Regions from separate parts of the Homo sapiens genome. Here all the other regions are linked to region 5. Evidence: promoter capture Hi-C in 16 types of primary human blood cells and fetal thymus (Javierre and others, 2016). All regions are on one chromosome and are shown on one strand. The core of a region is centred on a gene start or on the middle of the fragment in contact, and the rest is flanking DNA. Distances in the headings are between cores, read along the strand shown. Region 1 overlaps CYYR1 (cysteine and tyrosine rich 1). Region 2 overlaps CYYR1 (cysteine and tyrosine rich 1). Region 3 has its middle 79 kb from the start of GABPA. Region 4 has its middle 100 kb from the start of GABPA. Region 5 holds the start of APP (amyloid beta precursor protein). Region 6 has its middle 120 kb from the start of GABPA.

Region 1 (2,700 bases), core at 183-2,682, 340 kb after region 5:
TGGAGAATAAAGATCCTTGCAAGGATCTATTTGATAACTTTATGGCAAGTGTTTCAAATCAGAGGATTGCAGCTTAAGGTATTAGGAAACTTAGATAGAAGCTTGATTATCATCAGTATAATGTGCATTGTGAACTAAGACCACGAGCATTGGTTTAGTGAGGATTAGCCCATGCCTCAAAATAACACATGATCGAATACACATTATATTGCAACACTCTCCATTGTAAATAACTGTTCAATGCCATAAATCTGCTTTTAGAAAACAGTCCTCTAAAAATAGAAATCAAACCATATTGCTACACTGCATCACACTCAAAGGCTTCTCATTTCACTCAGAGTAAAAGGCAAAGTCCTTACAATAGCCTACAAACCCCTCCATGATATGCCTTGTTCTCCTTGTCTCTCTAACCTCATTGCTCTTTACACTCCTCCCTCTCAGTCACTGTATTCAGCTATACTGACCTCTTTGCTGCTCCTAAAACATCAAATGCTCGACAATTCCCTTTTTCCTAGAATGTATTTCTTGCAGATATCTGTATGCTGTTAAGTCATTGGTCAAATGTTACATTTTACGTGAGTTCTTTCTTGACCACTGAGTTAAAATTGTGGCACCTAAGCCTTAATAACTTCCTATCCCTTTTTACTATTTTATTTTCTCCATAGAACCAAAGACCAGTTTTTGTACTTCCTTTAACATCTTAACTGGAGATGATATATTAGGAGATAATAATGGTATAATGCTGATAGCAGCTGTAGAAAGGATGTGGATTAGTTTTGTTAGAATAAGCTGAGCTTATGCTGCAGTGACAACTGGCCCTCAGATCTCAGTGGCTTTACTGAAAAAGTTTATTTCTTCCTCAGTCAAAGCCTGCTTAAGTCAGATGACTCTCCAGGGTAGCTCTCCTCTATGCAGTGACTCAGTGATCCAGGATTTTTCATCCTATAGCTCCACCATCTCAATCTATGGCTTCCATGTTTGCTACCGAGGATCTCACGAAGGCTTTTATCCAACTCGTTCCAGAAGTGACACACCTCATTCCTGCTCATAGCCTATTGGTCAGAGCTAGTACCATGATCTCACCCAACTGGGGGTTAAGGCTGACTGGGAAGTATGATGTTCTAAGTGCTCTGGAAGGAGAGGAGACTTGGCTATTGGTGAGCACTCCTCAGGTTTACACAGCAACCAACTCTGGAATGATCTTCTTAAGATGCAGTGTGATGCAATGTAGGGAGCACAGAACAGGATTCAGCAGGGCTGGATGTAAGATCTCATTGAACTAATCACTATTCACATGGCTTCAATTTAGGTATCCGCTCTGGAACTCTATTTTCAAACTCATGAGATCGGGGAAAATACTTATCCTGCTTATATCAGAAAGGTTTGTAAGTCCCAAATATAAAAGTTTGTAAACAGAATTTCCAAATGTAGGCAACCGTTCAAATGCCAGTACATGAATAATGCAGTATGGAGCATAGGAAACCTGCCCAGATAAGATAAAATGAATTACATTCCTATTTTACATCAATATTTATAAAGTTATCTCATTGTTAGAGCCATAGAGAATGCTATCATTTCCAGACCTGCTGGCTTAACAGCTGTGATACCTAGCCAGTGAGGTAGGGAGCTGTTTATGTATCAGCACTGGTTTATTTTGTATGTATGGAGCATGAAGAAAATGCCAAGGAAATTCAGATGTATAACAAACACTTAAGATTACCGAAAGCAAAATTCATTCAACAGTGAATGAATCCAATACTGGCAGCTTGTGTGGTATCTTCTGTTCTGTTGCTGGAGGACATTGGCTATTGTGCAATGTAGTCTATTGTTGCAAGGATTCATGTGTATTTAGCACAAGGTATGATACTGACAAAATATCAGCTATTTGAAAAGTCTCATTAGAATGTATTTAAGGATATATTAAAATCTTTTGATAATATTAGATTTTATAGATTTGAGTACTAAGTACATTTGTTGTCAGACTTCAAAAAGATATTGAATTTATATATAATAATTTTGTTAGTCACTTCAAGTTTGTTGAGGATGGTAAAATATTAGCATTAATAATGATATCCTATTTGTCAGTGTTATCTATTCAAAGAAGTATTATAAATAACAAATCTAAACTTTTAAATACATTTAATACAAAATAGTCAAATATGTGGATTTCTCTATTATTTTACTAGTGATTTGGGTCTTCTGGAATTCCTCAGCAGACTTTTACAACATTAGGGTAGAAGGAATCCAAATTATCTGTTTCAATTCCTTGCCAAATGAACACATTATCCCTATGGGGAACTTCTTGCTAACTGACGTTATTGTAGCATGCCATTTATTATCTGTGAGAAAGTTTACCCTTTGTGTGTATCCATATGTGATAGAGAAGTATTTCACATAGTAAACAGATATTTGCCTCAGTAGACACTTCACCCATTATTTTAGATTGGAGATGTTTCTTGCCACTGGTATCTGTGTTATACACACATACTAAATATTAGTAACATCTTTACAGTTCATTTAAAAATAGTAGATTCAGAGACTAAACTATTAAAGATGATAAACCAGTTAGTACTTGGGTAACCAACACATAAAAACCTAGATGATAATTTTCTAATCGAATCTTGTCATGGAATTTTCCTGCCTAGTCATTGGCTCACATAGTTCTACTGTGATGAACAAAAGAAGATGGATCCAATAAGA
Region 2 (2,800 bases), core at 224-2,723, 370 kb after region 5:
AATCTTTAGAGCACCACTGAAATAATAAAATAAAGAGGTAAGCTAAAAAGCCAAGATAAATTAAAATGGAATTCTAAAAGCAATTTCAATTAACTCAAAAGTAGCAGGAGAGGAGCATGAAGGAAACACAAAGCAAGTGGGACAAACAGAAAAGATAACAGTAAACTGAAAGACTAAATCCCACCACATCAGTAGGAAATGAAGTATTTTAAAAGGCAGAGATTGTCAGAATTACTTAAAAAGCATGAACTATTTGTTGTCTACATGAAAGGTACTTTGAATACAAAAAAATCAAGTAGATGCCCTCTGAATACAGAAACTCCCTTAAGGGCTGGGAAGATATTCTATTATACCATGCAACATAAACAGCATAAGAAGGTGGGGGACGGGGGCGGGGCGGGAGAGAGAAAGAGAGAGAGAGAGAATATGTGTGTGTGTGCGTGTGTGTGTGTGTGTGTGTGTGTGTGTGTGTGTGTCAGAGATATATTTTCCCAGGAATGCAAACATCATTTAAATTTTGAAAATTTATCAATATATTTCACCTTACAAGAGACCTAAACATGCGATCATTTCAACAGATGCAAAAAGCGTTTGATGAAATTCAACCTCCATTCATTACAGAACTCTCAGCGAATTAGGAACAGAAAGAAATTTCCTCAATCCGATAAAAAGAATCAATGAAAAACATTACAATTAGCATCATGCTTAATTGTTTTTTTCCTATGTTCCAGAACAAGGCAAAGATACCTACTCCAACAACTTCTAGTCAATATTTCCAGAGACATAAAGTAAAAACCAAAAAGAATTAAAAGGCATACAGATCAGAAAGAAGTAAAACTCTATTTGCAGATAAGATTTTTTTTACATAGAAAATCCTAATCAATGTATAAAGTAATTACTAGATGTACAAAGTGAATTTAGCAATGTTGTTTTATATATGATCAATACACTAACACCAATTGTATTTTCATACTCTGCAGCAACAAACAACTAGAAAACAAAATTAATAACAATTCCATGTATTAGGGTGTTAAGAAGCAAATTACTATTTAGGAAATTTAACAAAGGCAAGGACTGACTCACATTTACCTTCATTTTCACAATGTTTAGCCCAATGCCTAAATGATATATTCAACACAATTTTTTGAAAAGCTAAAGAATGTTTGTCTGCTATAAAAAGATTCAAGTTAAAGTCTTTAAAAATTCCTTAGCAAACTAACACAGGAACAGAAAACCAAACACTGCATGTCTGCATGTTCTCACTTAGAAGTAGGAGCTGAACAAGGAGAACACAGGGACACAGGGAGGGGAACGGCACACACTGGAGTCTGTTGCGTGGTGGATGCGGGGAGGAAGAGCAGTAGGAAAAACAGCTAATGCACGCCGGGCTTAATACCTAAGTGGTGGGTTGACAGGTGCAGCAAACCACCATGGCACATGTTTACCTATGTAACAAACCTGCACATGTACCCCAGAACTTAAAATAAAAATAAAATTTTAAAAAGTTATGATATTCAATTCAATGTAGAAAGAGACAGTAAAATAATCTTTTTCAAAAAAAAAATTATAGGTTGTTTTTTCCTTCATCTCTCTGTCCAGGTTTAAGTGCAGCAGGGCTCAAAGAATGGCACCCACATGTCAGGGGCCTGTGCTCCTTTCCTTCCGCACTGGGACCTGTGCTACTTTGGCACCTCAGCAAAGCATGTACTGAAGTTGCACACAATCATCTCTGCTCATGCACCATTGGCTGAAGTTAGTTAAATGGTCACATATAGCTGGGCGTGGTGGCTCACGCCTGTAATCCCAGCACTTTGGGAGGCCGAGGCGGGTGGATCACCTGAGGTCCGGAGTTCGAGACCAGCCTGACCAACAAGGTAAAACCCCGTCTCTATTAAAAAATACAAAAATTAGGGGGTGTGGTTGTGGACGTCTGTAATCCCAGCTACTCAGGAGGCTGAGGCAGGAGAATTGCTTGAACCCGGGAGGCGGAGTTTGCAGTGAACCGAAATCACGGCACTGCACTCCAGCCTGGGCTACAGAGTGAGACTCCATCTCAAAAAATAATAATAATAATAAATAAATAAAATAAAATAAATGGTCACACATAGCTGCAAGGAGGGCTGGGATTGTAGTGCTTACCCTGGAAAGCTATTGTGCTCTATTAAATTTATATCAATATTAGATAAGGGAGATTGGACATTAGAAGACAACTTGTTGTCACTAACATACCATTTCTAACTGTCTGACAGATACAGTGAAGAAGAATTTTAATGGCGATATTTTACCGTTCTGAAGACTAAAACATTTTGAGATTATTAATGAATTTAAAGCTCACTTCTACTAATCCACCAACCAGAATACAGGAAAACTGTTCAGCTGCTGTTTTTATTTACTTGAATTCTGTACGAATAATCACTTTTAGTCGTCAAAATCCTAAAATATGAACTTAACAAGACTCACTGTTAAATGCAGAGCGCTTAGAAAACCAGACACAGAACCTGACCAGGATTTATGAATCATATGTTAAAACAGAAATCGTAAAATAAGATTTATGCCTGGTCAAATTATAGATTTTAGCATACTGACTCATAAATCAGTCACCTGAATCCCAAGGGCAATAAAAGGATTTATAAATCAAAACTGATTTAGGATTTATTAGCTAAATGTCTACCATAAGAATGCCGTGTTTATAAATCTCTTTTGACTTACAGAACTAAATTTCACAAACTCTACAGTCAGGGCCCATCTCTAATGATGCTTTTGAAGGGTATACATCCTGGTGACCCTGAAGAAACACGGA
Region 3 (2,958 bases), core at 450-2,949, 360 kb before region 5:
ATGACCGGCTGGGCGTGGTTGCTCATGGCTGCAATCCCAGAACTTGTAAAGGCCAAGGTGGGTGAATCGCTCGAGCCCCAGAGTTTGAGACCAGCCTGGGCAATATAGGGAGACGTTGTCTCTACAAAAAATAAAAAATGAGGTGGGAATGTTGCTTGAGCCCGGGAGGTGGAGGCTGCAATGAGCCATGATTGTGCCACTACACTCCCTCCTGGGCGATGGGAGTGAGACCCTGTCATAAAAAAATAAATAGGTCGGGCGCGGTGGCTCATGCTTGTAATCCCAGCACTTTGGGAGGCCGAGGCGGGCTGATCACGAGGTCAGGAGATAGAGACTATCCTGGCTAACATGGTGAAACTCCGTCTCTACTAAAAATACAAAAAATTAGCCGGGCGTGGTGGCGGGCGCCTGTAGTCCCAGCTACTCAAGAGGCTGAGGCGGGAGAATGGCGTGAACCCGGGAGGCGGAGCTTGCAGTGAGCCGAGATCGCACCACTGCACTCCAGCCTAGACGACAGAGCGAGACTCCGTCTCTGAATAAATAAATTAATTAATAAGGCTAATATTACCATAAGAAGATGCTCATATTTATTTAGGCATCAGAAAATGGAGATTAAAGCCCTATTAAGATACCACTACACATCCTACCTCTGCGAGAATGGCCAAAATTAAAAAGACTGACAGTGCCAGTTTTGGTGAGAATGTGGAGTAACTGGGACTTTCAGGTATTATTGGTGGGAGTGAAAATAGTATGGTACGCAAAGCTGCAATAATCAAAACAAAACTGGCATGGAGACAGACCATAGAGACTAGTGGAATGGAATAGAAAAAACGGAAATAACCCCTGTCACATATGGTCAAATAATTTTTGACAAGGTTGCTAAGATCATTCAATGGGAAAAGGGCAGTCTTTTAAACAAATGGTACTGGAAAAACTGGATGTCCACATGCATGACAATGAAATTGGTCCCTTACTTTACAACGTACACAAAAGTTAACTCAAAGCGGATCAAAGACCTAAACATAAGAGCTAAAACTATAAAACTCTTAGAAGAAATTATAGCAGAAAATTTTCATGATGTTAGGTTTGAAAATTATTTCTCGGATATGGCAATAAAAGTAAAAATAGATAAATTTGACTAAATTAAAATTTAAAACTTCTGTATATGCGTATGAATAGCCAAAATCAACAAATGAGGAAAAAGCAACTTACACAATGAGAACATACTTACAAATCACATTTCTAATAAGGGGTTAATATCCATAATATACAGTATAAAGAACTCCTACAACTCAGCAAAGAAAACCAAACAGTCCAATTTTAAAAACGGGCAAAGAATTTTTTTTTTTTTTTGAGATGGAGTTTCACTCTTGTCACCCAGGCTGCAGTGCGATGGCGCAATCTCGGCTCACTGCAACCTCAGCCTCCTGGGTTCAAGCGATTCTTCTGCCTCAGCCTCCTGAGTAGCTGGGATTACAGGGGACCACCATCACACTAAGGTAATTTTTGTATTTTTAGTAGAGAGCGGGTTTCACCAGTTAGCCAGGCAGGTCTTGAACTCCTGACCTCAAATGATCTGCCCATCTCAGCCTCCCAAAGTGCAGGGATTACAGGCATAAGTCACCACACCTAGCCTTAGGGCAAATAATTTGAATGGACATTTCTCTAAAGATGTACAAATGAGCAACAAGCACAAAAAAGATGTTCAGTATTACTAATCATTAGGGAGATACAAATGAAAACCACAAAGAGATACTACTATTAAAAAACCTGAAAATAGCAACTGTTGCTAAGGATGTGGAGGAACTGGAGAAATTCACTGTTGGTGGGATTGTAAAATGGTGCAGATGCTGTGGAAAACTATATTGTTTTCAAAACAAAGATTGAATATAAAATTACCATATGATCAAACCACTCCCCTTCTGGTTATACATCGAAAAGAATTGCAATCAGGGTCTCAATGAGATACTTATCCACCCATGTTCACAGCAGCATCATTTAAAATAGCCAAAAAGTAGAAGCTAACCCAAGCGTCCACTGGTGGATAAATAAACAAAATGTGGTATGTACATACAATAGAATATTATTCAGCCTCAGAAAAGGAAGGACGTTCTTTCTTCTTCTTTTTTTTTTTTTTTTTTTTTTTTTTGAGAAAGAGTCTCACTCTGTCGCCCAGGCTGGAGTGCAGTGGCTCGATCTCAGCTCACTGCAACCTCCACCTCCTGGGTTCAAGCAATTCTCCTGTCTCAGCCTCCTGAGTAGCTGGGACTACAGTTGCATGACACCATGCCTGGCTAATTTTTGTATTTTTAGTAGAGATGGGGTTTCACCATATTGCTCAGGCTGGTCTCAAACTCCTGACCTCAGGTGATCCACCCGCCTTGGCCTCTGAAAGTGCTGGGATTACAGGCGTGAGCCACTGTGCCCAGCCAAAGAAGGACATTCTGACACATGCTACAACATGGATGAACCTAGATTCAGGACATTATACTAAGGGAAATAAGCCAGTCAGAAAAAGATAAATACTGTATGATTCCACTTATATCAGGTACCTCAAATAGTCAAATTCATAAAGACAGAAAATAGCATGATGGTTGCCAGGAGCTGGGGAATAGAGAGAATGGGAAGTTGTTTAATGGGTACAGAGTTTCAGTTTTGCAAAGTGAAAAGACCTTTGGAGATTGGTTGCACAGCAATGTGAATGTACTTAGTGCTATCGAACTGTATACAGTCATCCCTCAATATTTGTGCAAGATTGGTTCCAAGATCCTGCTCATTGCCAAAATCTGTGGATACTCAAATCCCTTATATAGAATGGTAGTATTTGCATATAACCTCTGCACATCCTCCTATATACTTTAAATCATTTTTAGATCGCTTATAATACCCAGTACAATGTAAATGCTATGTAAATAGTTGTCAGACTGTGTTATTTGTATTAATTTTTTAATGTTGCAT
Region 4 (2,848 bases), core at 246-2,745, 330 kb before region 5:
TTTCCAGGTCTTTTCCCTCATCCAGGAGATAATTAACTAAGAGTCTGGCACCTTTTTAAGTGTGATAAGAAACATTTACAGTCTATTCTCTGAAACCTGCTACCTGGAGGCTTCACCTGCATAATAAGAACCTTGGCCTCCACATCCCCTTGTCTTAACCCGGACACTCCCTTCTGATTCCAGGTCTTTACATACCACCTTTACTCTTTCAAACAATTGTCAATCAAAAATCTTTGAATTCACCTATGACCGGAAGCCTCCCTCTTCACCCCTCTACCCCTGCAACATACACCTTACATGTATTGACTGATGTCTTACGTCTCCCTAAAATGTATGAAGCCAAGCTGCAGACTGACTCCCTCGGGCACGTATTCTTAGGACCTGGGGCCGTGGTCACTCATGTTTGGCTCAGAATAAATCTCTTCAAATATTTTAACAGAGTTTGACTCTTTTCCTCGACAGGAAGCTTTGTCAATGCTGGTGAGGGCCATTGTGTAATGATGAATTGAGAGTTTTGTGGAAAGCCAGATTACCATGGATTGAAGAGTAAACGAGATGGGAGAGTGTGGGTTTATCTTTTGTAAAGAGTGTCTGAAAGGAGGAAAGACATTTCCTAACTACAAGACAGATTAGGTCAAAAGCAAATTGTCTTTTTTTTGGTTTGTTTTTTTAAGAGGAAAGATAGTTGGATGTTCCACACAGCACTGGAAATGAGTGACTGTTGCTGAGGACACAGGCCAAGGCCGACTTGGAAGGCCTCTGTACTCTATGTGGGCACCATTTCCAGACTCGCTGTTGTGCAAATCTGGGTTCATAGAGGTGCCTTGCTGAGTCTCTGGTACTGTCTTTTCAGTAAGTCCTCTTTTGAGACATGAATTGAAAGCACCATAGAAACAATGGACCCTCCCACTCTGCTCTGAAGCAGGCCTAGCCCCTGACTCCCTACGTTGCTGGGTGGAAGCCAGTCCTCTCTCCAATTTTGCAGATTTGCTATCTAAAGAATTTGCAGGCCAGGCGCAGTGGCTCACGCCTGTAATCCCAGCACTTTGGGAGGCTGAGGGAGGTGGATCATGAGGTCTGGAAATCGAGACCATCCTGGCCAACACGGTGAAACCCTGTCTCTACTAAAAATACAAAAAATTAGCCAGGTATGGTGGCAGGTGCCTGTAGTCCAAGCTACTCGGGAGGCTGAGGCAGGAGAATGGCATGAACCCGGGAGGCGGAGCTTGCAGTGAGCCGAGATAGTACCACTGCACTTCAGCCTGGGTGACAGAGCGAGACTCCGTCTCAAAAAAAAAAAAAAAAAAAAAAAAAAGAATTTGCAAAACCTTACACGTTCCTCTTTTTATGTGTTTCCTGCAAGCTGCAGGTCACATATTGGAAGAAGATCCTTGGAACAGAGGGATTGGTATAGCCCTGAGCTTCCCAAGGTAAACACACAAGCCAAGTCCTAGCAGCACCAGGTTAGGGTAAATAAAAAATTTGAAAGGAGCAAACTTGCTTTTGTTTTAAAATATCATAGTTTAATGAGAAATTTGAGCCTTGGTGACTGTCTTAACCCTTTTTTTTGTGAATATTGACGATAGGCCTTGATCCATAGTATGCCACGGGTACATGATCCTTTCACAAATCTATGGTGGTGAAAAATGTCTCTTTATAATGTGTTGTGTACTGGTAATCTGAGGCTGGAAGAGTTGTGGATGTGGTAAAAATCAGTCTTTGTGGTTGGCCCACATTTTTTTTCTTTGGCCTCTGGCAACTGCACCCTGTGTGTGTGGGCATAAGAACAGTATGGATCCATCACCTTACTGGCTTGTCAGCAATTACATAAGACAGCTCCACTTTCACTGAGAGTAACAATAATAATTTCTTCTGAGGACTTTTCTGGAAATGAAAACACTTTAAGCAAAAAGCAGTGATCTAATTTGGAAGCAATACCTAGCAGAAAGTGTATTCGTTTCCTAGGGCTGCCGTAAAAAAAAAAGACCACAAACTGTGTGGCTTCACACAACAGAAATGTATTCTTTCCCAGTTACAGAGGCCAGAAGTCCAAAATCAAGGTGTTGACAAGGTTGGTTCATTCTGGAGGCTCTGAGGGAGAATCTCTTCCATGCCTCTCTCCCAGCTCCTGGTGAGTGCCAGCAGTTCTTGGTGCTCCTTGGCTTGCTGATGCCTGACTCCAAATCTCTATCTCCATCATGTGGCATTCTGTCTGGATGTCTCTGTGTCCCTGTCTTCACAGGGCCTTCACATGACACCAGTCATTGGAACTAGTGTGCATTCCAATCCAGTACGACCTCATCTTAACTTGGTTACATCTGCAAAGACCCTGTTTTCAAATAAATTCACATGTACTTGAACTGGGGGTTAGGGCTTCAACATATCTTTCTGCGGGAACACAACTCAATCAAGAACAGGAGGCTATTGAGAAATAGGTATTTAGAAGAGCTCAGTAAGAATCCACATTTAGCATACAAGGAAGGAACATGGTATGCTGAGTAGTGAATTATAACTTTTATGTATTCAAGCTTTGGTAAAAGCTGGAATCCCTCTGGGGAAATTAAGAAAAAAAATCCCACTTTGATAGAGGCTGAAATTCTTGGTAGTGGAAAGCAGATGAGCCCACTCTGTCTAGCACATATAGCAGTTTCCCTCTCTTTAAATTGGATAAGTCTGGCCTGGAAACTAGAAATCTCGGTTGACAGCCATAAACCACTTAGAAGTAGTCAGAATTACAGTCATTTGCAATATACCATACCCTATAAGAAGAGCATCTCCTTAATCATAATATCCAACTCTCAGACTATCCTTTTATAGACATTGAGGCTACAAAGGCATTTTCTTGATG
Region 5 (2,752 bases), core at 77-2,576:
GCCTCCTTGGATGCACAGGACAGAGCCCGTGCCTCCCCACCATCCGCCACTGCCCTTTCCAGACGCACATCCCACTCTCCGCCTTATTTCCTCCCCGCCAAGGACTTTACAGCCCAGCACAGAATTAAGCCTCGGAGGTGATCCGAGGGTGGGAAGCAGAGGGGCCCCGAGGCTCCGCCAGAAGCCCCGGCAGCGTCTCTGCCCCCTCCCAGGCGGACGCGCAGCCCCGGGAAGGGAGCCGGGCGGGAGCCTCGGTGGCGCACTGAGACTAACGCGGCTCGGCCCACGGCGAGGGCGGGGTGTCGCGGCTTTTGTTCCCGCGGACCTTCTGCCTCTCAGACAGAGCTTAGGGTGCGAGCGAACTCCCGGGACGTCCAGACTTGGGGAAGGCGCGGGGTGGCTATGGGTCTCCGACCCCTCCCATTTCTCGCAAGTTACACAAAAGGGAGACGCGGACATGCACAAAGTTTGCCTGTGGAAGGCGGTGCGCGACCCCGACGCCGGCTCGGGCTAGGGTCGCACCCAGGCTGCCGCCGCCAGCAGCCGCGAAAAGAGGTTGGAGCAAGGAAGGGGGATGGGGGTGAGAGAGGAAGGTGAAACGAGGCGGAGAACGCAGGGAAAAGCGAGGGGCTCCTAGCTTCCTGGGCTGTCCCGACTCCTCCTCCTCCTCCCCAGGGCCCAAGAGAAAGGAAAGGGCAACGATTCAAGAGCGAAGGACTGGCTTTAGGGACGCTGCGTTTTCGGTTTTCCCCACGTGCTCCTTCCCCCTTCCCCCCTGTCTGAATGTCTCTCGCCTCCCCCGACCCCCGCTTCCAAGGCAGGGACTAAGTCGGGGTCTGGGCTCAGGGTCGCCCCCTACCCTTCTCGCCCCGGGCTGGCGCGGAACCAGGGAGACCAGCGCCTCGCCCGCTCCCTCTCAGCGGGCCGGAGCGCGACTCCCTGGGGCAGGGCTGGGCCGAAAGCGGGGATGCGCTGGACGTCCGCAAGCGGGGGCGGAGAGGAGAGGGGTCCCATTGACGGACCCCCGGCTTCTCTGCATTAAAGACTTGGGTTAAGGTCTTGGGGGGTATCGCGTCCCCACCGTGCAGCCTCCCCCCGCCTTCCGAGGCGCGGCACCCACCTCCAGCGCCCGAGCCGTCCAGGCGGCCAGCAGGAGCAGTGCCAAACCGGGCAGCATCGCGACCCTGCGCGGGGCACCGAGTGCGCTGCTGTGCGAGTGGGATCCGCCGCGTCCTTGCTCTGCCCGCGCCGCCACCGCCGCCGTCTCCCGGGGCCCCCGCGCACGCTCCTCCGCGTGCTCTCGCCTACCGCTGCCGAGGAAACTGACGGAGCCCGAGCGCGGCGGCGGGGCTCAGAGCCAGGCGAGTCAGCTGATCCGGCCCACCCCGCTCGGCACCCGAGAGAGACCCCTAGCGGCGCCGCCGGGGAACTGCGCCCGCTCGCGCCGGGAGGGGCCCTCGCGCCCCGCGCCCACAGGTGCACGCGCCCTTGGCGCCGCCTGCACCCCACGCGCCCCCTCCGCTCCCCGGCCGACGGCCCACCTGGGCTTCGTGAACAGTGGGAGGGAGAGTCTGGGGCCAGGAGAGGGACGGTGCAGGATCAGGGAAAGGTGAGTCCTAGGACGCTGAGGCTCTAGAAAAGTCGAGAGCGCTCCTGCTCGTCCCCGTGAGCTTGAATCATCCGACCCCGCAGGCCTCCCGGGGGTGTCGTATAAAGGACTGCTGCTAGGGTGCGTTTTTATCCGCATTTCGTTTTTTCTCTCGGTTTGGAGAGGTGGGGCAGGCGTTTCTGGAAGAGAATGAGAACGAGTGAAGCTTAAAGGAAATAGGATTTTCTTTGCTTGTTGAGACAGCAAAACCTCATTTTTTAACCCCCAACGTCAAAAGCAGGCACGAGCAACCTGGAATTTCTATCTTTAGAACGAACCAAAGGAGCAAGGCGCAGGACCTGGCAAAGAAGCGGCCAACCCATTTACTTCTTCTTGAAAGCAGGGTTCTGGGCTTGGGTTTTGTTTCTTTCTTATATTTTTGTTTGTTTTTGGTTTTGTTTTGTTAAAGGGGGTGGTCAGTGTGGATTTTGCGGGGCGGGGGGTCTTTTTTTGTTGTTAAGCAGGGATGTAACATCCATCTGAGTTGGGGAAGAAGGAAAAATTAGGAGAGATCATTCGTATTCGACCCCCGTAAATGAGGACTTCTGACCTCAAACGCTGCCCTTGTTCTTCATTGTGTCTGTCCTGAATTATAGAAATGAACCTTCTGCCATGCCACTTTCTCCTGGATTAAACACAAACCGTCCACTGTCCAGTTAGTGTCCAGATAGTTTAGAATGCTCTAGAACTGCCCAGATATATCCCCTGCTCTTGACCTGAAGTAGCATTTAGTTACCAAGCCACAGCCCACTCCACACAGGGCTTGGAGCGAAGGACTGAAGCCAGGGAGTGCTCTGGCCCTTCTGAGGGCTGCACTGCAGCCTGCCTTCTCTCCCTTGCTCATTGCGCTGACAAGGGTGCCTAGGCCCGGGAAGGATGGCTCAGCCAGCGGGGTACAGACTTCCTTCCTGGGAAGTCATTTCTGTACCAGCTCCCCTAAATGTTGTCTTGTGTGTCTTTTCCCGCACTAGGCATTCAGTCTTGACTCTTGGATTACTTTTGCCCCTGAATGTCCTTTGGATGTCCTCAACAAATAAGGACAAATATTTATTGTCATGCAGTATTTGTTTATACGCTTCATGTCATTTACTTCCTACAAAAGCC
Region 6 (2,855 bases), core at 43-2,542, 320 kb before region 5:
GTTAAAGATCTCTGTTTTCAAATATTGCATGTGCAGAGACTAAAAAGTGCACTGTATAAAATAGAGAGTATATTGGTAGTTACCAGAAGCCGGGAAAGGTAGGGGGAAGGGGGAGATGAAGATTGATTGATTCATGGGTACAAATATACAATTAGATAGAAGAAATAACACCTGGTATTTGATAGATCAGTGGGGTGACTACGGTTAACGTTAATCAATTGTACATTTCAAATTAGCAAGAAGAGAGTAATTCAAATGTTCTTAGCATTAAAAAATGATAAATATTCAAAGTGATGGATATCTCAATTACCTTGATTTGATTATATGAATGTATCAAATTATCACATGTACCCTGAAGATATTTACATTTATTATGTGTTAATAAAACAACTCTAGTCTTTTAAATATGTCCCCTATTTTCCACGCTTAGTATCAGAACTCTCTACTTTTTGCTTGTTTGAATCATTGCATTAGCTTTCTAACTGGCTTCTTTAATTCCTATTTGTATATTTAAAATCTGTCTTCCCAACTGGGCTCAGACCAGTGTGATACATCCAAAATACAAAACTGATGCTGTTTAAAGTGTGCTAGCAGCCCCCCTTTTTACACAGAATAAAGTCCATGCATTTCAGGATGGCCTCCATGAACTGGCCCATCTATATCTCTTTGGCCTCATGTTTATTTTATGATCTGTGGGATACGTATGGCTAGTGACCGAGAGCAAGGGCTCTGGAGTCAAAGCATCTGTTTATATTATGGTTTTTTCATCTATGAGCTGAGTGACCCCAGGAAGATTTAAATAGTATTCCATGGCTTAGTTTCCTCATATGTCAGGTGGGAATACAAAGAGCAGCTACTCATAGGGTTGTTGGAAGAATTTAAAAAATAATTTGTATAAAAACACACATTGGTCCATTTTGTGCTGCTATCATAGAATACTACAGACTGAATAATTTTTAAACAGTTTAAGTTTATTTGGCTCACGGTTCTGGAGGCTGGGAAGGCCAAGACTGAGGGTCTGCATCTGGTGAGAACCTTCTTGCTGCATCATAACATGGTAGAAGGCATCACATGGTGAGAGAATGCAAGAATAAGAAAAAGTGAAGGGTGCTGAACTCACCTTTTATAAAGACACCACTCCCTTGATAATGAACCCACTCCTGCAATGACAACATTAATCCATTCATGAGGATGGAACCCTCATGACCTAAACACCTCTCATTAGGTTCTGCCTCCCAACACTGCTGCATTGGAGATTACGTTTTCAACACATGAACTTTGGGGAACACATTCAGACCATAGAATAACATTTAGTGAAGTGTCAGGCACATAACAGATATTCTACAATGTCAGTTATATTAATATTAAACTGCTTGTTTTCATCATGTGCCATGTTTTTCTATTCTTTGTCTTGCTGTCTTTTGTTTTCCTTTGTGTAAAATGTTCTTGCTCTGCTTCACTATGGAACAGTGGTTGACAGCATGGGCTTTGGGTGAGATTAAAACAGGTTTGGATTCAGACACTTCCATGGATTAACTGTGCAACATTACAAAGAGTGCTCAAGAAGTGATTATTATTATCCTATGTACCCTTCAGGATTCAGCTCAGGGGAAATCATCTCTGTGCCAGTTATGAGGCTATTACCTTTTGGCATCAAATCTATCCTTCCATAGTTGGCATTTTGATGCTGGGGCCAGGATTCTGCAACCTGCATTTTTACTTTGCCTGCAGGCTCCGTGTTAGGCTCCCTCTACTTGGGAAGGAAGACAGAAGCAGCAGGGCTGAGGGAGGAAGAAGGGACTTCCACCTCCTGTTTGTGTCCTGTGTGCCTCCTGCCTGCTGCCTGTTCCTACTAGGCTGTTAGTTCTTGTTTTATCTTTTCAAAAGACAGAGATGAGGGTGAGGTCAATGAAGCATCTGCCTCAGGAACAAAATTTAAGGGAACACTAATACTAAGGAATCAGGATAAATTACTGTATATTCAAATATAATATTTTAAAAAATCAAAATTAAATGAAAAAAAACCCATAATGAACAAAATATCAAAATTTTAGTAGAGACCAGTGCCCGCTGAGCCACATTAGAGCCTGGGGCCACTGGTTTTAATAAAAACAAACTCATCAATAATATATTCAAAATCTACTTTGTTGCTAATTTCATTTTTAGTTGAGAGAATTACTGTGTTTGACAATTTCTCTTGTCCAAGAGATGATCTTTAATAATTTTTACTTAGCTTAAGCTGATACAGAGTGATAACAAATTAGCTTTTGGCATAAGTAAAATATTAAACTTAAAATAACACTGTGGGCTGGGAGTAGTGGGAGTAGTGGCTTATGCCTGTAATCCTAGCTCTTTGGGAGGCTGAGGCGGGTAGATCACTTGAGCCCAGGGGTTGAGGCCAGGCTGGGCAACATAGCCAAACCTTGTCTGTACAAAAAAATACCAAATTAGCTGGGTGTGGTGGCACATGTCTGTAGTCCCAGCGACTCAGGATGCTGAGGTGGGAGAATTGCTTGAGCTCAGGAGGCAGAGGTGGTTGTGAGCTGAAATTGTGTCACAGCACTCCAGCCCGGGCAACAGAGCAAGACTTCATCTCAGAAAAATGGAAAATAAAAATAACATTGTGAATTTTAATACACCTACTTTTCGGACTTTCAATATTTTTCTTTTTTCTTTTTCTTTTTTTTGAGATGGAGCCTCCCTTCATTGCCCAGGTTGGAGTGCAGTGGCATGATCTCAGCTTTGTAACCTCTGCCTCCTGGGTTCGAGCAATTCTTCCACCGCAGCCTCCTGAGTAGCTGAGACTACCAGTGCACGCCACCACGCCTGGCTCATTTTTGTATTTTTAGTGGAGA

What was found. Contacts are between HindIII fragments. The CHiCAGO score rates a contact against its expected background, and 5 or more counts as called.
Region 1: a contact is called between a fragment that was not itself captured here and the fragment with the promoter of APP in region 5, in 1 of 17 cell types (endothelial precursors). The highest score is 5.7, in endothelial precursors.
Region 2: a fragment that was not itself captured here is called in contact with the fragment with the promoter of APP in region 5 in 1 of 17 cell types (M2 macrophages); the score reaches 5.0 in M2 macrophages.
Region 3: a contact is called between a fragment that was not itself captured here and the fragment with the promoter of APP in region 5, in 1 of 17 cell types (fetal thymus). The highest score is 11.7, in fetal thymus.
Region 4: a fragment that was not itself captured here is called in contact with the fragment with the promoter of APP in region 5 in 2 of 17 cell types (fetal thymus and megakaryocytes); the score reaches 7.0 in fetal thymus.
Region 6: a fragment that was not itself captured here is called in contact with the fragment with the promoter of APP in region 5 in 3 of 17 cell types (neutrophils, fetal thymus and megakaryocytes); the score reaches 6.0 in neutrophils.

Annotation. Positions count from the first base shown.
Region 1 is chr21:26,508,759-26,511,458 of GRCh38, forward strand. All of the region lies in intron 2 of CYYR1 (cysteine and tyrosine rich 1), which reads right to left. The region is part of intron 2 of CYYR1-AS1 (CYYR1 antisense RNA 1); the gene reads left to right. Among named protein-coding and RNA genes, the nearest start is that of CYYR1, 63 kb to the right of the region's middle. The HindIII fragment of the contact is 2,666 bases long and covers 100-2,700 here.
Region 2 is chr21:26,541,851-26,544,650 of GRCh38, forward strand. The region is part of intron 2 of CYYR1 (cysteine and tyrosine rich 1); the gene reads right to left. The region is part of intron 2 of CYYR1-AS1 (CYYR1 antisense RNA 1); the gene reads left to right. Among named protein-coding and RNA genes, the nearest start is that of CYYR1, 30 kb to the right of the region's middle. The HindIII fragment of the contact is 6,910 bases long and covers 1-2,800 here.
Region 3 is chr21:25,812,424-25,815,381 of GRCh38, forward strand. No RefSeq gene overlaps it. Among named protein-coding and RNA genes, the nearest start is that of GABPA, 79 kb to the left of the region's middle. The HindIII fragment of the contact is 8,358 bases long and covers 1-2,958 here.
Region 4 is chr21:25,834,848-25,837,695 of GRCh38, forward strand. No RefSeq gene overlaps it. Among named protein-coding and RNA genes, the nearest start is that of GABPA, 100 kb to the left of the region's middle. The HindIII fragment of the contact is 2,062 bases long and covers 465-2,526 here.
Region 5 is chr21:26,169,444-26,172,195 of GRCh38, forward strand. APP (amyloid beta precursor protein) reads right to left here and starts at 1,327. Exons shown (of 18, transcript NM_000484.4): 1 at 1,121-1,327. The coding sequence starts at 1,177. APP-DT (APP divergent transcript) reads left to right here and starts at 1,424. Exons shown (of 4, transcript NR_186396.1): 1 at 1,424-1,609. RefSeq lists enhancers at 1-39, 538-1,062 and silencers at 80-349, 850-1,679. The HindIII fragment of the contact is 2,642 bases long and covers 1-1,812 here.
Region 6 is chr21:25,852,263-25,855,117 of GRCh38, forward strand. No RefSeq gene overlaps it. Among named protein-coding and RNA genes, the nearest start is that of GABPA, 120 kb to the left of the region's middle. The HindIII fragment of the contact is 7,481 bases long and covers 1-2,855 here.